Linked DNA regions of Homo sapiens: region 2 is linked to region 1. The links are contacts of gene promoters, found by promoter capture Hi-C in blood cells and fetal thymus (Javierre and others, 2016). All regions are on one chromosome and are shown on one strand. Each heading gives the region's core, a stretch centred on a gene start or on the middle of the fragment in contact. The rest is flanking DNA. Distances are from core to core; before and after follow the strand shown. Region 1 holds the start of GPR19 (G protein-coupled receptor 19). Region 2 overlaps BORCS5 (BLOC-1 related complex subunit 5).

Region 1 (5,421 bases), core at 2,922-5,421:
AACAAAACAGTGTGGCCACTTCTCTTTTTTCCTGACTTGTTTCCTTAGATCTTGCCCCTCCTAGTTTCTGATCCCTCCAGGGTTTGAGAGGAGGATGAGCAATACGTCTTACTTTGTTGGTACTAACATGAGCTGCCATCAGTTTCCCTGTACCTCACAGGTATTAAAGACTGATTCCTTATCTCAATGGGCACTTACGTGGGTTTAGGGGGACAAAACTCTACTTCTATGAATTTTTCAACTATAGCTCCTTTGACCAGCTGGCCACTTATCTAACTCCAGAAAGACCTTTAGCTTTTCCCTGCTGAAGTCTATTCCTCTCTTTGAGTGGTCATCTTGGTCAGGTCCAGTGATGACTCGCTGCTGGCTTCTCTTGTCTTTTTTTTTGTAATATTAGCCAGGTTAATGGCGGGGTTTTGCCATGTTGCCCAGACCGGTCTTGAACTCCTGGGCTTAAGCGATCCTTCTGCTTTGGTCTCCCAAAGTGCTAGGATTACAGGCGTGAGCTACTGCGCCTGACTCAAATTTAATTTCTTGTACCCCAAAAAGAGGCAGAAAGAAAGACGGACTGGATACCCTCATTTATAGAACCAGAACCCCATACTGGTACAATATGAAAGTTTCTGAAAAAGGTCCAACAGGTATTTGATATCCACAAAGCACAAAAGACCTAATTATAGTTGTTTTTTTTGTTTTTTTTTTTCTCCAACTGGGCTTAAGCCCCTTTCTCCTTTGCTTTCTGAGCAAAAGTACTACTGGCCTCCAGCAGCTGAAAAAGCCCTTAAGAAACTGAAGCATTACTTGTCTTTGGCTCTAGTCCTGGCTCACTCTAACCCATAAAAACCTTTAAAGACAGAGACCAATCTGTCTAGCATTCCTATCGGTCCCAGGAAGATTCTCTGTCACTCATGTGTGCCTGCTTTTCAAGAAAAGGAACCCAATTAAAGACAGGTAACTTCATGTGGCAAAAGATATTCTTGGCCATTATCACTACCTTTTTTGTCTTATATTCAATAACTAAAGTAGTATGGTGATTTCAACTTCTGAGTTATTTATAAACCTAGAAACCAGAATTGTCCTACTAGCAAGTAACTTGTCTCTTAGAAGCTGAAATTGCTGACCATGCCACTTGTATTCCAAGTGATTCTGTGTTCCCTGAAAGGCTACAAAGACAGGCTTGAACCTCACCTTTCTCATCTGTTAATAATAACAAAACCACTTGTGTGGTCAGAGCTGCCACATCAACCCTGATAGGCTACCGGAAAACACTTCATTATCAATGCCCTGCTGCACATGCATTCCCATGTACAGCAGCCTCTCATTGGAAAAGAACACACATTTCAATCATGCCTTGATGCCCTCCCCAACCAATGAGGTATTGCAGGTTGTAAAGATCCGCCCCAACCCACTACTGCCATCAGCCCTGCTGATGGCCCAAGATTCACCATGTGTAATGCAATAAAGACATCATTATCTGTGTTGCCTGTGCTAGATCAAAAGACCAGCTTGGGAGACTGACACTCTTCTATCTCTACAGCTAAGCCTGTGTATCCTGGCAATTATACTAATGGCTTTATCAATGACCTTTCCCAAATTAGTACGTTAACCCCATTCTTATCACAGTGGCCTTCCTCCTGAATAGAGCTCATGATGCCCTACTTATCTGCCTGTCTCAAGCTCTAAACTTCATTCCTCCAAACGTGTTTTCCAAAACGGAGTCTTGCTCTATCACCTAGGCTGGAGTGCAGTGGCACGATCTCGGCTGACCGCAACCTCTGCCTCCTGGGTTTAAGCAATTCTCCTGCCTCAGCCTCCGGAGTAGTTGGGATTACAAGCGCGTGCCACCACACCCAGCTAATTTTTGTATTTTTAGTAGAGATGGGGTTTCACCATGTTGGCCAGGCTGGTCTCAAGCTCCTGACCTCGTGATCCCCCCGCCTCCGCCTCCCAAAGTGCTGGGATTACAGACGTGAGCCACCGTGCCTGGCCCTAGAGGGAACTCTTAAAGCAGTGGCTCTCAACCTTTGTTGCAAAATGGAGGGTTTTAAGAAAGTACTGATGTCTGGGCTCCACTCGCAGAGATTCTGATTTAATTGGTATAGAGAAAAGCCAGGGCATTAGGATTTTTTTAAGCTCCCAAGGTGATTCTAATGTGTGGGCATGGTAGAGTACCTGTCTTTTTTTTTTTTTTTTTTTTTTTTTTTTGAGACGGAGTCTCGCTCTGTCGCCCAGGCTGGAGTGCAGTGGCGTGATCTCGGTTCACTGCAAGCTCTGCCTCCCGGGTTCACGCCATTCTCCTGCCTCAGCCTCTGGAGTAGCTGGGTCTACAGGTGCCCACCACCACGCCCGGCTAATTTTTTGTATTTTTTTTTTTTTAGTAGAGACGGGGTTTCACCGTATTTGCCAGGATGGTCTCGATCTCCTGACGTTGTGATCCGACCGCCTCAGCCTCCCAAAGTGCTGAGATTACAGGCGTGAGCTACCGCGCCTGACCCGGTAGAGTACCTGTCTTAAAGCTCCCTAAATACAGACGGACCTACGATGCACAGAGCATCCACAATTCAACTGATAGGTGGCATGTACTTTACACTAAGTTCTATGCTACCTCATTTTGTCATTACAATAATCCTATGGCACAGGCACTATTATCCTTATTTTATAAATTGAGAAACTGAGATTCAGACAGGACACACAGAGTGACTGGCAGACCCTAAAGTCAAAGCCCAGGTCTGATTCCCAATTGTACACACTTTATATGACATCATATCGAGATGTCATGCCTCTCAGAGCTGGATGATCCCACTCCCTAAAACAAGACACCCAGGCTTCAACCCTGAAATCCTATTCCATTGCCTCCATGGATTTTTCCTGCAGCATTTTCCTATGCACTTCACACATACAGCGCAGCTGCCAGGATATACTTTAGGCTGCCAAAATGAAATGAAGTCACTTTCTTGGTAAGTGATTACCATGCCTGGCTCTTTACTGAAGTACTTCCATTCTATATATTCACACTGGGATCCTTCTCCATCACTGCTAGCTTCAATCCTGTGGCTTTCCATATTTAGTTTTTCTTACAGATGAAGTGATACTCTTTACCTATCAGCCATTCCTTTGTTGGAGTAAAATTACGTATTCCATCAGCATTCTTCTGCCTTGTACTCCAGATAGTATACAAAGAATCAAATTATAGTAGCTAAGTGGCATAGAATTGCTGCCGATATCAAGATGGACTCTAATATCTAGTGAACTGGGAGGCTAGAGGCTAGAAGTATGTACTTCTGTAAGGTGTCAGTGACACATCTGAGTAATGTGGTAGCTAAATGCCACCATTTCATTCCATGAAATCCACATTTCATTCTGGCTAAAGGGTAAAGCTGGTGAGAGGTGGGAGGGGCCAGGAGGCTCCATCGGAAGGAGGCAGACACTTCAGGTGTTGGGTGGTACCTTTAAGATGTTGCGGGGCCAAATCCAATGCCGGTGCAGGTGTCCCATATATCCTGAGAGACAAAAAGAGGTCAGATTGGTCAGATCCCTCGAGACAGTTCCCAAATTCCTGACTTCTGTTACCGCGACTGTTCTTCGCAATTCCACCTCGGCCTGTGTTCAGGACTGTGGCTTTTAGAATCTTCCTCATTCCATTCCATTAGGGGCGTCCCGATTTCCACCTTATATACACCATGTACTAAATGCATGCCATTTCTGCCTGTTTACAAACATGCATAAGTTCACACTCTTTTAAGAAAAATGTCCTCTACTGTCAACTTCTTTCTAGTCTGGCCTCCCAGGTAGGCTACAGAGCTACTGCCTTCATTTATCTCTCAAATCTTCCCATCTTCTCCTTCCCACTGTATTACCTTAGCTCACACTCACATCCTCTTGGTCACCAGCCAAAAAATAAATAAAACTCCTTTGTCCCTTCAGATTTCTCTCTTATTCTACAACCTCATTAATCGGCTCTCCCGCTCCCACTCCTTTACTACTTCAGTCGCTGAAACCTCCCCTCACAGAGTTCACGGCCAATATAAAAACGGAAAGAAGGGATGACCATACGAGCTTGTGGACTTTTGCCTGCAAAATCTCATAGAATGTGGTGTTGTGTACGTGAATCCATCAGATCAACGCGACGGACACTCCCCAAGGGCCAAATCGGACCGCCTCTCACTAGGCGGAAAGTTTTGAAACTTTTGCGCGCTAAAAATGATGAGCCAGACGCATGCGCAAACGTGCACTCCCGGGGTGGCGCTTCTCCTCAGGCAGATCTCGCGTGGTTTGGTGATGGCCGGCTAGTATGAAGGTTTTCCGTGGCGTTGAGATCCCACCCGCCCTTTTTTTTTTTTTTTTTTTTTTTTTTTTTTTTTTTTGCTGCCCCAGTGGATTAGGATTAGTGCTGCAGTCAAATGAAAAAGATCAAGACAAAAAATTAGGCTAATATAACTAGCCGACAGGCTAGCGGCATTTCTCTGGGGCCGAGGAATTCCACGAAGAAGATCTCTGCGAGGCCCAGAAGGCCGCACAACTACTTCTTCAGAAACAAAATTTTTTAAAAAAGTAAAAATAGAGGAAGTCAGCCAGTTTATCACCTTGGAACCAGCGTTTTGTTTGGCTTTTCCGCTTTTCACTCTACGAAAAAGCCCATTGGCGGCTACCCAGGTTACCGTCCTGTTGCCATTGCGCCTGCGCGGCGGTTTGTTTACCAGTCCAGGCGAAGCGCTGTGTCGCGGTTCTCGCCGCCCCGAGCGCCTTGGTTTGCTCCCTTGACGTGTAATTCGTAATGAAAGTCATGTTTTCATTTGGGAACACGGATCGGAGGTTTAAAACTGGACAGTTTAAGTGTCAACTTCAGACCAAAGAAAATAATGGTAGGGAAAACACTGGACACTCAGAAATCGGTGCCGCGTCAGAGCTGTCACGGAAGATGTTTCTAATGAACCTGAGGAAAACAATAGCACCACCCTAACCAGAACTAAAAAGTGGCAAGCAGCCACAGTTAATGAAACTCATAGGTGGCATTTAGTTACTTATTTAGAATGTAGGCCTAGTTATGGTAAAAATGCAAATAAGACCAAACCTAAGGTCCTCTTGCTCGAGCAAACCTCAAGCAAAACCTACATGATTTAAGACTGACTCTTGAAGCGAAGTAAAAAAAAAAAAAAAAAAAAAAAAGCAGCCATGCAAAATTTGAAACTTGGAGACGACTCTAGAAGCATTAACCCAAGAAAGCACAAGCCAACAAACAAATTTTTGAAATGGTTTGAAGAGCTCTTCAAAGTCAGTTTCAGGTGGCTTAGAAGAGGATGTTGCTTATAAAATGAGATCTGATGGAAACTTGTTTTACAGATATGACTGGATTCGTTTGAAAACAAAAAAAAAGGCAGGCAAAGTGACTTTTTAAAAAGTATTTTTATGGAAGGATTTCTA
Region 2 (5,507 bases), core at 2,043-4,542, 260 kb before region 1:
ACGCCATTCTCCTGCCTCAGCCTCCCGAGTAGCTGGGACTACAGGCGCCTGCCACCACGCCTGGCTAATTTTTTTATATTTTTAGTAGAGACGGGGTTTCACCATGTTAGCCAGGGTGGTCTCGATCTCCTGACCTCGTGATTCGCCTGCCTTGGCCTCCCAAAGTGCTGGGATTACAGGCGTGAGCCACTGTGCCTGGCCGATAAAATGTTTTAAGATGTGTTCGGCCATATGAACTTTGGTGAGAATTAAAGATGAGGTTTTTACTTATGGAGTAGGGGGCACTTGGGATGGGTGAAGAAGGGAGAACTGCCCTGAAGTTCTTACTCATAGATGAGGAAAAACCTCAGCTTTTTGTTAAAATGAGTTTATTTATTTAAAAAATATTTAAGGGGGAAATGCATTCATTTGGTTAAAAAAAGTTCTGTTAAAAGTATACTATGAAATTCCCCCTCTTTACCCCTTGCCTCCATCTAATTCTTATATATCATTTCAGAGTTTATTTATGTAAATATAAGTAAATCTGAACATATACTCTTGTTTACTTGCACCCCAACCCCCATTTTTATGCAATGATAGCACACTCTATGCATCTATATACCTTTTAAAAATTTTATCTTATGGAGGTTTTTTTCCATGTAAGTACATAGAGAGCGCCCTCATTCTTTTCTTTGTTCATGTAATACTATTTATAGATATACCCTGATTTAATTAACAGGCCCTCTATTCAGGGACATTGTGGTGTTTGCTGACCTTTGCTGTTACAGTCACTGCTGCAATGAATACTCTTGTATATACATCATTTAGCTTGTGTGCTACTGTGTGTGTAAATTCCTAGTGGTGAAGCTGTTGCATCAGAGGCTATGCATTTGTAATTTTGTTATCCATGCCAAATTGCCCTCCTCCATAGGGTGTTAACAACTTACACACTAAGCAGCAAAACCTCTTTCCTCACAGCTCCACCTACAAAGTATTTTTCATGCTTTTCGTTTTTACCAATTTGACAGGTGAAAAATGGGCTTGTGGTAAAGTTTCAATTTGTTTTTCTTATTATAAGTGAGGTTGTGCATCTTTTCTTATAGTTGAGGTATTGGTATTTCCTTTTCTGTGAAATATCTTTTCATAACTTTTGTTCATCTTTCTTTTGCTAATTCTTTTTTTTTTTTTTTTTTGAGACGGAGTCTTGCTCTGTCGGCAGGCTGGAGTGTGGTGGCATGATCGCGGCTCACTGCAAGCTCCGCCTCCGGGTTCAAGCGATTCTCCTGCCTCAGCCTCCTGAGTAGCTGGGAATACAGGTGCCTGCCACCATGCCCAACTAATTTTTGTATTTTTAGTAGAGACGGGGTTTCACCATGTTGGCCAGGATGGTCTTGATCTCTTGACCTCGTGATCTGCCCGCCTCGGCTTCCCAAAGTGCTGGGATTACAGGCGTGAGCCACTGCGCCTGGCCCTTTTGCTAGTTTTTAATTTGCCAATTTCTTTTCTTGTTTTTTTAGAGATGGAGTTGGATCTTGGCTCACTTCAGCCTTTGCCTCCCGGGTTCGAGAGATTCTTCTGCCTCAGCCTCTCAAGTAGCTGGGACTACAGGTGCATGCCACCACACCCACCTACTTTTTGTATTTTTAGTAGAGATGGGGTTTCACCGTGTTAGCCAGGCTGGTCTTGAACTCCTGACCTCAGGTGATCTGCCCGCCTCAGCCTCCCAAAGTGCTGGAATTATAGGCATGAGCCACTGTGCCCAGCCTTATTTGCAATTTCTAGGCACTCTTTATATATTAGGAAGTTTACCCTATGTGATATGAGTTATCACAATAGGAGGAAAAAGGCTTCCTGGGGTCTCTGCAGGTTTTTTATTTTCCTCAGATTTTGGGTATTCTTTTTGTATTTTAAATTTTAACTTGTGTTTGTTGTCATGAGGAGTCTTGGTTTTTGTATTGTTGAATTTATCAGTGTTTCCTTTATGGCTTTTGCATTATCCTGGTCCACTGTTAATGGCACAAAATCGTTCATTCCTTTTTCCATGGTGCCTCCTTCCTCTTTTCCTCTTTCAATTTCGGATTGACAGCAAAATGCTTTTGGTATCTTCTCCCAAGTTTGCGTTCCTGGAAATGTATTTCTTGTCAGTGATAGGGTAGCCCTTGATAGTTTTGTTAGGAGATTTTAGTGGTCTGTAGCATTCCCATTTTCTTGGTACAGGCACTCTGGGAAACTGACAGTTTCTTATAAAACTAAACATGCAATTACCATATGACCCAGCAATTGCATTCTTGGGCATTTATCCCAGAGAAATGAAAACTTATGTTTACACAAAAACCTGTACATGACTGCTCACAGCAGACTTGTTTGTAATAGCCCCAAACTGGAAACAGTCCAAATGTCCTCCAATGGGTGAATGGTTTAACAAACTCTGATACATATATACCATGGAATACTACTCAGAAATAAAAAAAGAATTAACCATTGATATATCAACAACATAGACACATCTCTAAAGTTTTATGTTGGGCAACTAAAAAGATTCAATCCTAAAAGCTTACATCATGTATTATTTCATTTATATAACACTTTTGAAAGGACAAAATTTTAGAAATGTTGAATGGATTAATGGTTGCCAGTGTTTTAAAGATGGAAAGGGGGATGAGAGAAAGAGTGGGGTAGGTATAGTTACAAAAGCAGCACAAGAACTCTTTGTGGTGATGGAACTTTTCAGCATCTGACCATGGTGATGAATACATGAACTTGTGTATAGGAAAAAAAACTAAATACAGACACAAATCAGTGCAAATAAAATGAGGAAATCTGGGCTGGGCACAGTGGCTCATGCCTGTAATCCCAGCACTTTGGAAGGCTGAGGCAGCTGGATCACCTTAGGTCAAGAGTTTGAGATCAGCCTGGCCAACATGGTGAAACCCTGTCTCTACTAAAAAATGCAAAAATTAGGCAGGAATGGTGGCACATGCCTGTAATCCCAGCTACTCAGGGGCCTTGTTCAATTGCTTGAACAAGGTTTCAGTGAGCTGAGGAGATCATTCCACTGTGCTCCAGCCTGGAAGACAGAGCGAGACTGTGTCTCAAAAAAAAAAAAAAAAAAAAAAAAAAGGAAATCTGCCCGGGTGCAGCGGCATACTCCTGTAGTCCCAGCTACTTGGGAAGCCAAGGTGGGAGGATCTCTTGAGCTTAGGAGTTTGAGGCCAGCCTCAGCAACAGAGGGAGATACCATCTCTAAACCAAAAAAGGGAGGGATGGGTAGGATCTGAATAAGGTCAGATTATATCTATGTCAATATCCTGGTTGTGATATTGTACCATAGTTTTACAAGATGTTTCCATTGAGGGAAATTGGGTAAAGGGGACACGGGATCCTATACATAGGATCTCAATAAAAATTTCAATTAAAAAATTCCCAATTTCTGCTAATACTGGATTCACCAAAACATACTGCCTGGAAGCAGGTTCAGGTCAAGTAACTGGTGCTCTCCTGTGTTAGGACTTGTAGTGCAGCAGCTGAGCAGTGGAATGTGGAGGAGCCTAGCAGTGCCTCGGGTTCCAGCCCTGTATGCTGCTCTGTCTCAGAAGATCTGAGAGCATCGACCAGCATTTCCCAGGATTCTCTGGGACAACCTAGCTGGGTAGCCCTTCATACAGCCTGTCTGGAGGGAGAGAATACTGGCTTCAGCTCTAATATATCAGAACAGTGTGGTGTGGATGTTGGTGGTTGGGGACAGTGAGGGGTGGACATTGGTGGTTGGGGTCGGTGAGGAAGGGTTCCCAAGATGAGCTTTGGCCAGGTGAGGTGGCTTACACTGAGGCGGGAGGATCGCTTGAGCCCAGAAGTTCGAGACCAACCTGGGCAGCAAAACCCTGTCTCTACTAAAAATACAAAAACTAGCTGGCTGTGGTAACAAGTGCCTGTGGCCTCAGCTACTCTGGAGGCTGAGGTAGGAAGATTGCTTGGGTCCAGGAGGTCGAGGTTGCAGTGAGCTAAGATCACGCCACTGCACTCCAGATGGGCAACAGAGCAAGACTCTGTCTCAAAAAAAAAAAAAAAAAAAAAAAGCTTTGCTGTGCCCTGCACGTGACCTACTGTCATATGTATTCTGTGTTCCTTGTGCTGTAGCATTGGCTCTGCTGTGAGACAGAATGGTCTGGCATGTGGTAGGGCGATCACTGGGATCCCCAAGACCCTGCTAGGGAATCTCTGAGGTCAAAACTATGTTTGTAATAATACTTAGACATTATTTGCAAAACATGCTCATTCTCTTACAGAAGTGTCCAGTGGAGTTTTCCAGAGGCTAAATGATGTGAAATAGCAACAGATTAAATGCAGAAGCAGCTATGATATTCCAGCTGTTTTCTATTAAGGCAGACATTAAAAAGACATTAATAAAAATAAACCAGTGGCATCATTTCACTTTTTTGGTTTGGAAGAATATTTTCCTTAAAATGTTATTTTTGTTAATGTATAAAGGGGTTATCATTATATTTAAATGATTTAATATTTAAGAATGTTCTCAGTTTTAATTTTTATAGGTGAATATCAAAAGATAAAACTCACATAAAAGCTCTTTGGGGTCCTTGGTAATTTTTGAGAGTGTAGAGGTTCTGATAATTGAGAACTGTTGATTTGGCAGAAAGCAATAGGCTTAATTTCTAGACTGGGCTTTGCTTTGTGAATGTGGGCATCATTTGGCCTCTTCAATTGATTTCTTCTCCTGCAAATGCTATTAATTGCCCTGCTACATACCTATAAAAATATAATCCCCTATGCAAATACAGGGGAGATTAATGGTTACCTGGCTAAGCTGGTGTTGAAAGAAAATGTAAAGAATGAGTTTCTGGCCTGTTAGCTGACAGTCTGTTTACTTGTTAAATGTCTCCATTTTAGCATCTCCTAGCAGTTTCTGTATACATTTGATTTCTTTTTCTCAGTTTTTCAGACAACCATTTTAATTATTTTTAAAAATTATATTCCCACATTTTCAATTAATAAGGGATTTATATTCCTAGTACCTTGAAGTGATGTGATAAGGTCAGGAGCTCTGTTCTTGGAGAAACCACTTACTAGCTATGTGACGTTTGGAAAGTTACTTAACTTCTCTGTGTCTTGGCTTCCTCCTGTGTAAATGGAGCTAATAATACCTCACTTTCCAGGGCAGCTGTGAATACGAAAAATCGTGCACAAGAAGCACTTAGCAAAAGTGCTTGGCACATAACAGATGCCCCATAAATAATAATTGCAACGATTGTCATTAACATATAACAAAAGATGCAAGATTAAATTGAAGTCTTACCCTGTCTTCAGTGAACTTGTTAAACTACTTTATTCACAAGTTTATTAGCAGTAATTTTAATTTCATTTCATTTTTTTCTCCTTTGAAGGGCTATTGAGTGGCCAGACTTCCCCAACAAATGCCAAATTGGAGAAACTGGACTCTCAGCAGGTGTTGCAGCTCTGCCTCCGATATCAAGATCACCTGCATCAGTGTGCAGAGGCCGTTGCTTTTGACC

The links. Contacts are between HindIII fragments. The CHiCAGO score rates a contact against its expected background, and 5 or more counts as called.
Region 2: a fragment that was not itself captured here is called in contact with the fragment with the promoter of GPR19 in region 1 in 6 of 17 cell types (total CD8 T cells, non-activated CD4 T cells, total CD4 T cells and 3 more); the score reaches 11.7 in total CD8 T cells.

What each region holds. Positions count from the first base shown.
Region 1 is chr12:12,692,012-12,697,432 of GRCh38, forward strand. It overlaps GPR19 (G protein-coupled receptor 19), which reads right to left and starts at 4,172. Exons shown (of 4, transcript NM_006143.3): 1 at 4,054-4,172; 2 at 3,448-3,500. RefSeq lists enhancers at 3,920-4,079, 4,260-4,339. The HindIII fragment of the contact is 8,608 bases long and covers 1-5,421 here.
Region 2 is chr12:12,430,250-12,435,756 of GRCh38, forward strand. BORCS5 (BLOC-1 related complex subunit 5) reads left to right here. Exons shown (of 4, transcript NM_058169.6): 3 at 5,379-5,507. Among named protein-coding and RNA genes, the nearest start is that of BORCS5, 76 kb to the left of the region's middle. RefSeq lists a silencer at 2,166-2,460. The HindIII fragment of the contact is 1,524 bases long and covers 2,531-4,054 here.